4 separate regions of the Homo sapiens genome follow, and regions 1, 3 and 4 are each linked to region 2. Evidence: promoter capture Hi-C in 16 types of primary human blood cells and fetal thymus (Javierre and others, 2016). All regions are on one chromosome and are shown on one strand. Each heading gives the region's core, a stretch centred on a gene start or on the middle of the fragment in contact. The rest is flanking DNA. Distances are from core to core; before and after follow the strand shown. Region 1 overlaps SHROOM3 (shroom family member 3). Region 2 holds the start of SHROOM3-AS1 (SHROOM3 antisense RNA 1). Region 3 overlaps SHROOM3 (shroom family member 3). Region 4 has its middle 56 kb from the start of CCNG2.

Region 1 (3,182 bases), core at 152-2,651, 360 kb after region 2:
TAATATACAAAGTGCTAAGCACTTTGACTAACCTGAAGAATGCTTATTTCCACTTAAATTGCCTGGGTTTTGACTTCAAATTCATGTCACAATGATTTTTAAATTTTGAGATCTTTAGAATACTAGGATCTGTCTGTACCAGGTTTCCAGGAACCAAGAATGAGTGAGAGATGAGGCCAATTGAACCAAGACCCTAGCAGGTAGCAATGGCTTTGAGGGTAACAACTGTACGTGAAGTTCCCAGGATCGTGCCAAGAGAGTGTACTATTAGGAAAGCCGGCGAGTAGGCCTTGCAGGGAAAGTGAATGCTAGTGACCATCATGAAACCAGAGCAGACAGATTGAGCGTGGACACAGCCAACTCAGCAGTAGATGAAGCTGGATGAGCACAGCAGATGTACTACATTTTGAACTAAGCAAGGGCTAGAAAGGGACAACCAAAATGAGATAAAGTTTGGTGTAAAGAGCACTCCTTCATAAAAGACCATCAGTTGTGGTGCCCAGCTCATAACCGGGGCTCATCAGCATGTCGGGAGGCATGAACCTCATGTGCCCCAGCAGATCATTGTTCTATCAGTTTGCAACTTATGTCTGATTCCCTCTTTTAACTGGTTTCAGTCCCTGTTAGCTTTAAACCATCTAATGTTCGTCTAGTATTTCTCCTTGAGTACCAGGCCTTGGGGGTTGAGGTTTTTTCATGGCCTATCCATGTGATGGGATATACCCCACCCAAACAACCAGAGTGGTCAGAGTCTAGCAGAAGTAAAAAGCAGCAGGAAGCAGCACCTGGGAAGATGCAGAGAGCCCAGTTGAACTCCCAGTGTTAATAGAAGTAGATGTGCATCCCCCACCGCCGCCATTTCACCGAGCAGGGCACCTTAAGGATGCCACCAAGTTGACTGACTGTTGCACACAGTTCATGCATTCCACTTTTTTTTTTTTTTTTTACCAGTTTATCAAGATATGGGGTAACATAGATGGAAGGGTTCTTTGGCATCACAAAGTGACAACGCAGTTTTTACTTTGAAAGAAATTTTTCAGGCTGAAAGTTAAAAAGGTCTTAGATGTGTACCTTAGTAGTTTTATGACCTTCAGCAAGAGTCCAGTCTCTCCACCTATAGGACTTCCCAGAGTTTTGCAATGCTTACATGAGCTAGCATGCCTGTTACAGAGCAGGACCTCAGTCAAGTTACTGACAGTACGGTGATAAAAGCAACCCAGGAAGTCTTGTCAATTGAGAGTGAAAAATAACCCAAGAGATCAAGAGTTATGGGGTGGAGGGGGAAAACTCTCCCAACAGCAAAGAGAGTATTTACTGTTTCTTTGTGCATCATTCCCTAAGTTACTATGATGTTGACAGTTGTCTTTTGGTTAACAGTTGTCTTTTGGAAAGCCCTGTCCTGTTGTAGACCCAGGAAGTACCTTAGAAATGTACATGAGAGGGAGGAAGAAGGTGGCTTTAAGAGCCAGTACTAAAAACCTCCCAGGGTTTAAGTACCTGCCATGGGTCTGTCCATTTCACCATGAATAGAGAAAGACTCTTGGTGCGATCTACCCTCACACCCTGCATTTAGATCCAGTCCAAGGTCCTTTCCACAGCCTGCAAGGCCTTATGTGATCTGACCTCAGCCTACCTTTCCATTTCTCATACTACTCTCTCGCTTACTGTACTCCAATAACACTGACTTTCTTTTTGTTTCTAGAACTTTCTAAGACTCTCCTACCTCAGCCCAACTTATAAACCTCTTTGCATGTCTGGCTTCTTATTTCTTATTAGGTCTTGGCTCAAATGTCATCTCCTCAGAAAACCCTTCTCTAATCACCATGTGGCATACCTCTACCTCACAGACACTATCACTCTGGAACATATCGTATTGGGTATTTTTTTTCTTAATAATACTTACCACACCCTGAAATTAGCATATACAAACATGTTTATTGCCAGTCCCCTTCTGTTGGAATATAAGCTCTATGATGGCAGGGAATAATCTGTTCAGTGTTTCAGTGTGAGGTAGCAACTGCTGGCCATGATACAGAAAATCAGCCAAGTATCATCTTTGGCATATGAGTTGCCTACCTATGCTGGATACCTACAAAGCACTATTGCATAGCTTATACTATGTTGGATACTTATAACAACTTCATTAGGTAAGAATGTTCCTTTTTTTTTTTTTTTTGAGACAATGTCTGGCTCTGTCACCTGGCTACAGTGCAGTAGCACAATCTTGGCTCACTGTAATCTCCACCTCCTGGGCTCAAGCGATCCTCCCACCTCAGCCTCCTGAGTAGCTGGGACCACAGGCATGCACCACCATGCCTGGCAAATTTTTGTATTTTTTGTAGAGACAGGGTTTTGCCATGTTGCCCAAGCTGGTTTTGAACTCCTGGACTCAAATGATCCACCTGACTCATCCTCCCAAAGTGCTAGGATTACAGGTGTGAGCCACCATGCCTGGTGCCTTTGAAAGATGAGAAAACTGGCCAGGCGTGGTGGCTCATGCCTGTAATCCCAGTACTTTGGGAGGCCGAAGCAGGCGGATCACGAAGTCAGGAGTTCAAGACCAGCCTGACCAATATGGTGAAACCCCATCTCTACTAAAAATACAAAAATTAGCCAGGCATGGGGCCCATGCCTGTAGTCCCAGCTACTTGGGAGGCTAAGGCAGGAGAATCGCTTGAACCCGGGAGGTGGAGGTTGCAGTGAGCCAAGATCATCGTGTCACTGCACTCCAGCCTGGGCGACAGAGCAAGACTCCGTCTCAAAAAAAAAAAAAAAAAAAAAAAAAAAGAAAGAAAGAGAGATGAGGAAACTGGAAACTGAGGTTCAAGAAGGCTGTTACTTGCCATGGTCACATAGCCAGTAAAAGCTAGGGTAGAAATAAAACTTGTTTATTCCCACTCAGAGCCCTATATTGTCTGGGATGTAAGCTTTTTTCTATGCTGGAAAACCTCACTTAAAATGAAAATATATATATACATATATACATATATATAACATAGAAATTACAAATATAAATTAATATACATGCACCAAAGAGCATTCAAAAATAAAGGTTTAGGCCAGGCGTGGTGGATCACTCCTGCAATCTCAGCACTTAGGGAGGTTGAGGTGGGCAGATCACTTGAGCTGAGGAGTTTGAGACCAGCCTGGGAAACATAGCAAAACCCCACCTCTACAAAAAT
Region 2 (3,096 bases), core at 396-2,895:
CTCTGTAAGGGGGAAAACAATGAGAGGAATTCAGGGTTCCCTACTAGGCTGGCGCTGACCCACGATGGGGAAGCAGCCTCTTGGCGAAGAAAGGAGGAAGAAAGAAGAATTGCTGACTTGATTCCCCTCCCTCCCAAGGAACCCGGGAGGAGGGCATTGAGAAGTTGGTAGCATCCTGGAGAAAGGGTGGCCTTTGTGAAAAGTGCAGGCTCCACTGGATGCTTGAAATGACTGCTCCTGCCACCCTTTCTAAGGTCTCCTCCAGAAGGAGGGAGGAGCGCAGTGAGAGTGGGATGAGGACTTACTTCATCACACAAGGAAGGCTGGTGAACCAGTGACCACTGGGTGAAGAAAGAGAACTAGGGTCTGGAGAAGAGCCAATCGAGAAAGCCTGTGGGGCGGCTCATTAATGAGCTCATCCATCCAGGCAGGTTAAATTGCAGGCAACTGGGTTGCCCAGGAAGCAGCTGAAGTTTAGAGACTAAACAATATGCAATCACGATAATTTCCTCTGCCTGTGACTCATCTCGGAGGGTGTCCAGGTGATGGTGCAAAGATAGACTGAGAAAGAAGGCCTTTCTTTTCTAATAGCAAATGCAGAGAGAGCAGGAGCAATATTGTCAGGAATGCATTTCTCAGAAATCTAAAGAAGTGTTTTGTCACTTTATTTATAACATTTCAAAACTATTTTTGACTCGCACTACCTAATTACTTTGATTTTAGGTAGTGCAAAGCTCTTTGTAATACATAATAAACACACGCTTCCTCCCGCACCCCACTTAGGGAGAAAACAGAATGTTGGGCTTTTGCAGCCTGACAAGTTTATGTAACAAGCAGCATCCTTTTTGCTGTTTATGCATGAAGGGAAGCCATGGGAAAAATGGATGAAGTGTGGAATTCCAAGATTTTAATAAATATCAAACACAAGAAAAACTCTCCACTTGGTTGGGATGAATCGTGTTCTTCGTCAACTGCCTGTTAAAGCATTTTGATTCCATCTCAGGGAGGAGGAGGGAGGCAAGAAGGAGGAAAGAAACATCTTCAGGGTGCTCTTAGCAATGCATTCTTGCTTCCCGGCCCATGGCCTCTTTTCTCCTTAGAACTGTTTTTATCTTTTTTGGAGAACAAAGCCTCTTTCAACATTCCTTAGCTTACAGATGGGTAATGAGGCAAGAAGGAGGTGAAGTATCCTCACCGGCACCCAATATGAACCCAGTTCTCAAGTCCACTTATTTTTTTTAAACCTCACTGTCTCTGTTGTAGGGTTAATTCTCCTCCCGCCGCCTCTCTCAGGCCACTTCCCCTCCCCTCCCTGTGTATTTGCAGTCACAGAGCTCGTCTCAGAGGGGAGAGGAGAAGAGCTATTTGATCCTGGCCTCATGTCCATCAGGGGCCTCACATACGGCCTTTAGGCCTTATCTCCAGATGAGCTTATGCAGGCAGTCATTACAGTTGCATGCGTGTAAACAACACTGGTAATCAAGGCGGAGCTTTAAAATACAGCACAATTACAACTTTTTGTAGCTGTTTGGCATGTCTTCATTTAAAAAATACATTTAGGGCTTCAAAAGAAGTGGCTCAGGCCTCTTTCACCCGAGAAGCCTTGCGTGCACTGTTAGCAAACTCACACAAGTGAAGAGGGACCTTTCTTTGCTACACAGCGTCCTCCGTGGCGAGCTGGAGGGAAGCGCTCTCAGCAGAGAGGGTCGCCCTCACCAAGAAGCCAAAGGGAAGAGGACAGAATCTATCTTGTAGGGACGCCCTTGGTCTTCAGAAGGAACACTTTTTCTGTTTCACAGAGATCTGTGGAATGTGTGGGTTCCCTGAAGAGGTGGACGGACCCCCGGGGTCGCGCGTTTTCTCAGCCCTGGGCCCGTAGCGGAGCTCGATCCTTCCAGAGCTCAGGGCCAGAAATGTTGCGATTCCGAACACTTTGCCTTTCTTCTGAGAGGAGCCGCCCGGCAGACGCTCATCATTAAGAAGCAACGTAATTAACAACGAATGTTTCCCCTTGGCGCTAATGCGAACACCCTGGGGAACTGCCAAGTCTGGTAGGGGAATCGCAGCCGGGGGTGTCTGGGGGAAGCCAGCGTGGGCGGGCGCGGTGGGCCTGGGATTGCTTTTAGGCGCAGCAGCAAGGAGGGCGAGGGCGAGTGGAACAGAGGTCGGAGACCTTGCTAAGCTGCTGGCCTTTTCACGTTTCGGACCCTGAGAGTAAGCTGAGAGAATGGATGGGGTCAAGGCTGGGACAGGCTGTTGGCTACTGCCGGTGGGAGGGAATCCGGGCGGGAGACTGAGACCGGGCGGAAAGGAGGGAGACAGAGCACTCCCTCTAGGCGCTGAGGTCCGACACCCGCTTGATTTGTCAGTGCCGCCAACAGCCCTCCTCCTGTTGTCAGCAAGGACAGTCGGTAGGGCCTGCTGAGGGCCAGGCACAGTGCAGGGGCGAGCGCCCAAAGGTAGGGATCAGCCGCTGGTCTCTGTGCCCAGGGGTTCAAGGCCTGGGAGGAGACAGGCTTTGAAGACTTATAAAACAGTTGTGGGTGCTAATTTAGACATATTCCAGACATAGTCACAGGGCAGTCCCGACCAGAGGAGTTTAAGTCAGTGTTGTTACAATGCTTTATTTAATTAATATTATTTTTGGAAGGCTGTGTGCACCTGGAGGAGGCCAGCGGCTGTGTCTGTTTTGTTCACTGCTCTATCACTCCCACCTGGGATAACTCTTGGCAAATATGATGACAGCACCCATTGACGAGGTGCTTAAGATATATAAGGTTGGTGCAAAGTATTTATACGGTGCACCATATAAATACTTTATATTTGGCAGTCATCTGATCCTCAGCATAGCCTCGAGAGAGATTAGCCCCATTTTACAGATTATCAAACTAAGGCAAAGGATAATAGTGAATCTGGGTCTGAATGTAGTCCGTCTGGCTACAAAACCTGTGTTTTAAAATCATAGGCATAAATTGACTCAGAACTTGAAGAATGACTAGGAGACCAGGAGGGGTTGGGTCGGGGGAATTTTTGCTTTTATTTTCATAGTTTTGCTTCTCAGGTGTTGAGAGTAGTGCACCCTAAAAGTCCCGCTCA
Region 3 (2,896 bases), core at 199-2,698, 290 kb after region 2:
AAAGAATTTTAATACAGCCCTCAAGAGTTTGCTTCCCTGACCTGTATCAGTATTTATGTTTTCTAGGCAAATGAGAGAGTACACAGGAACAGGCTTGGGTGCCTGGCCCCAGATGTGTTACAGTACTCATTTAGAAATATGTTAGATAAGCTCCGTAGAACCCTACCAAATGTGAACAGCCATTTTTGATTCTTTGAAATCATTCAGATTATTTAACACAGGCAGGCAGGCAGGCAGGCAAGCAGGCAAGAAGGAAGGAAGGAAGGAAGAAGGTAGGAAGGAAGGAAGGTAGGAAGGAAGGAAAGAAGGAAGGAAGGAAGGCAGGCAGGCAGACAGGCAAAAAGGAAGGAGGGGGGAGGGGAAAGAAAATGAAATAAAACCCTGTCCATTAATGAGAACACTCTGTTTTTGCCTCTGTCTTTCAAAGACATGGGGAAAATGATCTCATTCAACCACAACAAAGATTTATGGAGTGCATATTAGGTGCCAGATGCTGATATGGAGTGGAGGACACTACGAATGAATAAATGTAGTCCCTGCTCTTGGGGGGTTAAATGCCTAAAGAATTATAGAGGTTTGAACCTCCCCAAAATGTCTGTCTTTCCCCCTATTTATCAGAAGTTGAGATAATTTGATATTTTATATGATTCTTAAGAGTCAAGCTCTCACCCTCCACTAGGAATACACACACACATACACACACACAACCAAAATAATCATCTTGCAATTTCTGAGGGTTGACAGATATTTCCTTATAACTTAAATAAATCTCTCATTTTAAAAGCTGTCCCTCTGGACTAAAAAAAATCTGATTTAGAAACTTTACCACAGTCAATTCATATCATTTACTTTGTAAGGAAAAAGTCTTCATGTTCCTCTTCTATATGCAGCCCTTGCTCTGCTGCAGCCGCAATATCCCGGTGAGGCTACCGGGAGGTCATTCAATCCACTTCCTTTCCACGGGGAATGGCTGGGAAGCTTTGGTTAAATGAGTGGTCCAAGGTCACATGGTAACAAATTCTGGCCCAGAGTCCTAATCTGAAAACCCTAGTCTTTTCCTCTCTCTGCTAGCATACACAGGCCCTCATTGGTCTGAGAATTAGCAGAACAGAACCCATATTGTTGAAGAAATTTTCAAATAATCAGCCACTGACTACAGCCCTAACATCCCCTTTATATATATATATATATATACCAAACAAACAAACAAAAACCCTAAGCAACTCAATCAGGAGAAATTCTTTTTAAGTTTCATTTACATGGATAAGAATCCTAAATCTTACCTATCTAGCACATCATGTCAAAAAACTACAAGTTAACCAAGCAAGAATTCTGTGAAACTACCTGGTCAGACCAGCAGAGCTGAGAACAGTGCCCTGGGCATGCAGGGTTAGGGATGTTCTGTATTTGGGATGCCCTGTACTTGCGATGCAGTGTTACCACCTGGGATAGGGAGGAAGTGAGCCTTTTTTAGACACTGTATCTTTGATAGTCCAGGTGATTTGCCTACACCCATCCAATGCCAACTGCATGTAAACTGGGGTGACTTGTTAGTTCCTGGATGACAAGGGTATGACCCAAGATGGGCAGACACACGGACTCTTTCTCACCAGGGCCTCTGGCAGACATTTTCCATGTATCAAAGCTCAAAGCAAAGTTCTTTTACAGCAAAGAAGACCAAGCAGTTGTCACTGAGAAGAAACCTGATTGCTCTCCTTGCAATGATCCTTTCAGCACTAAATATCTAATCCCATTGTAAGACTGAGAAAGTCACCAAGTGTGTTGTATTGCAGCAGGAAATCTATTTGAAGACAGTTTTAATAACAAGATAAATAGAAGTTCCAAAGGGTAGGAAAGGATTTCCTTAAGTGAGAACATAAATAACTCATCATTAAAATCTGGGTATGATGGAAGCTTGGCTGAAAGCAAGACTCTGGATTGGCTAGCTCAGAGGGAGTTCTCAAACCTCCCTGTAAAACTTTTTCACAGATTTCCTGTTCATGAGACTTGGGGTGGGATTGGAGGTAGCAGCTATAATTTATGAAAGGATCCAGGATCAGAAACTTAGAAAATCAGATCTGGAGACCCAACTTAAGTGTAGTTATTGGCTAGACTGTCCTCAGGGACTGCCCTGGTGATGTACACCAGGACTTTGTGTTTCTGTAATGTGCTTATTGCATAATATCTATTAGCTGGTGATTTTGGTTCCTTTTTTTTTTCTAAATCATGCTCCTGTTTTCATATATTATGAGCAAAGTGCTGTTATCTGAGAGTATCAGCTGACTCAGACCATTCAGTTCAGGGATTCCTCTAGGCTCCTGAGTAGGGGCTTAGATAGGGCAAATTCTGATGGTCTTACAAGGGAACCCCAGTCCTTCATGTCATAAGAGCATCTCTGCCTATAGCTTCATCTGATCTCAACACAGAGAACTAATAAGGTAGGGACATGGCATGATTTGGACTTCAGGAATATTACTTTCCTAGTTGGAAGGATGGATAATAGGAGCAATATTACAGTCTAGAAAACATGTTACAAAGATATTGCAATTGACCAGGCTAGAGAGAAAGAGGAACTGAACAGGAGAAATGACGGAGAAGAGATATACATTTGAGTAATAGTAGGAGGTAAAGTCAGTATCCTTGGTCATTCACTAACCATAGTGGGTGAAGGAGCAGAAAGACTCTGTGGTGACTTCAAAGAAGGATCACAACCCACTTTCCCTCTCGGTCTACTGCTAGTTTCACACACTAACCTGACTCCCAATCTCTCTCATTATCTTTGTGTTATTATGAAGTATCATTTCTGGTTATCAGACATGGCTTCCCATGTAATCATTTCCCATGCCAGGCCCTGTGTCAACAGTTGAGCTTTCTACCCACCTGGAGTTTGAGAACA
Region 4 (3,338 bases), core at 258-2,757, 410 kb before region 2:
ACATTGGTGCTTTAGCTACATGTGCAAGATACAACTACATTGTAAAACCCTTTCAAATCAACACTTGGATTAGTGTCAGCATAACTGGGCACTAGCCTATCTACTTCAGCATACCAGAAAAGCCGTCACACCTGGTAAGTAGGTTGGTGTATTGTTAGAGGAAGAGATCACCTGAAATGTGTTAACACATTTGAGAACCCACTTGGAGTTTAAGGAGTTTTGAAAAGCTGTATTAAAGATGTCTAACTATTCAACAGTATCTGGACATATACATTAGCAAGCTGTTCACTTATCTTAGGTGTGCTGTTTGTGAGAATAGTGCTGATAAAAATAAACATGACTTTGAAGAGATGAAATCAACCTAAATGCCCAGTGATAGACTGGATAAAGAACATGGTACATATACCATGGAATACCCTGCAGCCACAAAGAATGAGGTCATGTCCTTTTCAAGATCATGGATGGAGCTCCTGGAGGCCATTATCTTTAGCAAACTAAAGCAGGAACAGGAAACCAAATACATGAATCCATGCTTGCACTTAAGTGGGAGCTAAGTGATGAGAACACATGGCACAGGGGAACAGACACTGGGGCCCTACTGAAGTGAAGGAGGGAGAGGATCCAGAAAACTAGTGGGTACTAAGCTTAGTACCTGGGTGCCAAAAGCTGTACAAACCCACGTGACAAGTTTACCTATAAGAAGCCTGCACATGTACCCCCTGAAGTTTAAACATGATTAACAGAGCTTTTCTATTACCCCCCAGTACACAAACCATTGATATGCACGTGATTGGTTATCTGAAACCTCACTGAGGTTGAGTTGCTTTTTCAGTTGTCCAATTGGTATGCTATTTACACTGATCCAAATCAGTTGTATGGGACTCTTGTGAGACTGCTTTGGGGTAGTGTGGGCTGGAGAGTTGGGGAATGGCAAGACATCCACTTGGGGAAGAGTGGAAATGTGTGGAGTCACTCTGGCTCATTTAGTGCTTTTCTTGCTTGGGAGTTGGCTGAGGCTCTACCAGAAGGTGGTCAATGGTGGTGCTATCATGAAGTTTCCCATTCCTGAAGGGGCCATAACTTAGTGCCAGAAGCAGAGAGGGAGTGGGTTGTCATTCCTCAGCCAAAAAAATCATACCCCAACAGGCCCCTGTCTGTCAAGTCCTTGGTAGAGATTACCAAGCCCTGATTAAGTAGGTGTGAGTTTCCTATTGCTGCAGAATTACCATTAAGTGGCCTAATTTAACACAAACTTGTGTTTTTGGTAGAAAGTACCAAGTCTAACAGCACTTCAAGTTGCAGACAAACTATAGATAAATATCCTACAACTCTGCAGGTCAGGTCTGAAGTTAATCTCACTGGGCTAAAATGGAGATGTGGGCAGGGCTGTATTCTAGGAGATTCATCTTACCTCCTCCAGCTACTCTAGGCTGCCTGTATTCCTTGGTGCATGGTCCCCTTTCATCCTTAGTGATCAAGGGCCTAAAGGAACAGGATTTGAAGATAAGAAAATGAAGCCAAAGAGAATAGGACATGGATCTACCTGAGGAATTAGGCACAAGATCCGCACGCTTGTCTCAATGAGAGTATCTACTACAGAAGCAAGGCTCCAAGTATCACCTTGAACTGAGGGACCCATTGTACACCTGAGGTGAAAGACCTGATCACAGTATCCATCATCCTACCATATATACCACATCACACCGAAGCTGGTCTTGCAGGTATCTTCAAGGAAGGCATTCCTGCATCCTAATGTGCTGACTTAGTGACAGTCTATGCGCCTGTGGCACTGTCCTCCAGAATGCATCTACAAATTGAACCAGTGACTACATCATACATTTTTCCCAGCCCTGTGTGTCCTGTGTATTGGTGACAAAGCAATGATCACTTTAACTTCTTTTACTATCATTCCCAATAACCCACTTGAGAACTATGCCTGAGACTGAATGATTAGTTGTCTTCAAAGTATTTCAGGGAGCTTCCAGAGGACACAGTTCAATAAACCCACAATTAGGCTATCATTTTGGACTCCTTAAACCAGTAGTCCAGCAGGGACAGCACAGGTCTGCTTTGCTGATAGTAATTAGCCCTATCATGGTGAGTTTGCATTGCTGTTACTAGGTGGCAGCAGGAATTGGCATGTCTACAACTCAGGGGATTTGAAGGAGAGTGGTCTTGGTGCTCAGTGAATTGGCAAACTGCAGCAGCCATGACCTAGTAAAAGGTGAAGTAGCCAGAGGCTCAGATCTCAGGGATGAAGGTTTACTTTATTCCACTGGGCAAGATATTTGAAGAGGGACATTCTATAAAATCCCTCCTGAAAAAATTGCAACAAGTATAGAAGAAACATGGAAGAGCCTTAAAGCTTTAAGAGCTGAACACTAAACATTAAGTTTAATATACTATAGACCTCATAGCCATTGTTCATGAGTTATGTTACTACATATAGACTAATAGCTTTGTGGCACCTAATGACTTGGCCACAGGTACAATTTGAAGCACAGGTGACCTCAGACTTGGCTGAACACCCTTGTGAACTTCCTAGAACACAAGAGCATTAAGAGGCTTGTGAGGAGCTACTACAGGCCATTTCTCACTTAACTTCCTGATCTAAGGAGGCTGTCATGAACCCATTTCATTGCTTTTAGGGTATTCATGAAGTAATGGAGATCAGAGTCTACTAAGATGCAAACCGCTTGACCTAGCTCTTAGGGCATGGCATGTCAGTTTCTTATCTGTCCCAGACAGTAGTCAAGCTTGCACCAAGAATGGAGGGAAAAAATATTAAGAAGGAGCCAGCATCAGTCTAGGTCCTACACAAACAATGTGTAGGAAGAAAAGAGGGATAACCTTGACTCCTAAAGTGCAGGCCCAGATGGATCCAGTGGAGGTATCTCTTGGTAATAGAAATACTCAAGGGAGAACTTTGATTAGAGTGAAGGGTTTCTTATTCCTCAGCCACCAAACGTGGCTTACTGCTAAGGGAACAATGTTAAGTCAGCCTCTTCTGGCTTTTAAAGGCAACAAGCATTTGGGTGTGCTACTTCAGTTTGTCAGCTAACCCCAAAGCTTTGAGACCTGAGAAAAGAGCCTCGCAGCAGGTACAGCTTGGTTTGCTTGCACATTTGATGATTCAACTCTAAATTGGAGCCTATAAAATCTTAGGAGTCACCTTCCCTAGTAAGGGCAGGCTCAAATAAGTTCTGGAGACTTAACAGACATCATGGTGATTGTAGTTAGTAGTGTATCATATACTTGAAGTTTGGGAATACATCAAGTGTCCTACAAAAAAGTATGCAAGGTGATGGACATGTTTAATGTGGTAAACACCTCAGCAT

The links. The method cuts DNA at HindIII sites, captures the fragments that hold promoters and counts their contacts. A CHiCAGO score of 5 or more calls a contact.
Region 1: a contact is called between a fragment that was not itself captured here and the fragment with the promoter of SHROOM3-AS1 in region 2, in 1 of 17 cell types (M2 macrophages). The highest score is 5.9, in M2 macrophages.
Region 3: a fragment that was not itself captured here is called in contact with the fragment with the promoter of SHROOM3-AS1 in region 2 in 1 of 17 cell types (endothelial precursors); the score reaches 5.2 in endothelial precursors.
Region 4: a fragment that was not itself captured here is called in contact with the fragment with the promoter of SHROOM3-AS1 in region 2 in 1 of 17 cell types (total CD4 T cells); the score reaches 6.8 in total CD4 T cells.

The regions. Positions count from the first base shown.
Region 1 is chr4:76,444,090-76,447,271 of GRCh38, reverse strand. The region is part of intron 1 of SHROOM3 (shroom family member 3); the gene reads right to left. Among named protein-coding and RNA genes, the nearest start is that of SHROOM3, 10 kb to the right of the region's middle. The HindIII fragment of the contact is 3,057 bases long and covers 1-2,929 here.
Region 2 is chr4:76,801,012-76,804,107 of GRCh38, reverse strand. SHROOM3-AS1 (SHROOM3 antisense RNA 1) reads left to right here and starts at 1,645. Exons shown (of 3, transcript NR_187405.1): 1 at 1,645-2,051. RefSeq lists an enhancer at 2,070-2,860. The HindIII fragment of the contact is 9,780 bases long and covers 1-3,096 here.
Region 3 is chr4:76,515,920-76,518,815 of GRCh38, reverse strand. All of the region lies in intron 1 of SHROOM3 (shroom family member 3), which reads right to left. Among named protein-coding and RNA genes, the nearest start is that of MIR4450, 56 kb to the left of the region's middle. The HindIII fragment of the contact is 936 bases long and covers 981-1,916 here.
Region 4 is chr4:77,211,907-77,215,244 of GRCh38, reverse strand. No RefSeq gene overlaps it. Among named protein-coding and RNA genes, the nearest start is that of CCNG2, 56 kb to the right of the region's middle. The HindIII fragment of the contact is 1,721 bases long and covers 647-2,367 here.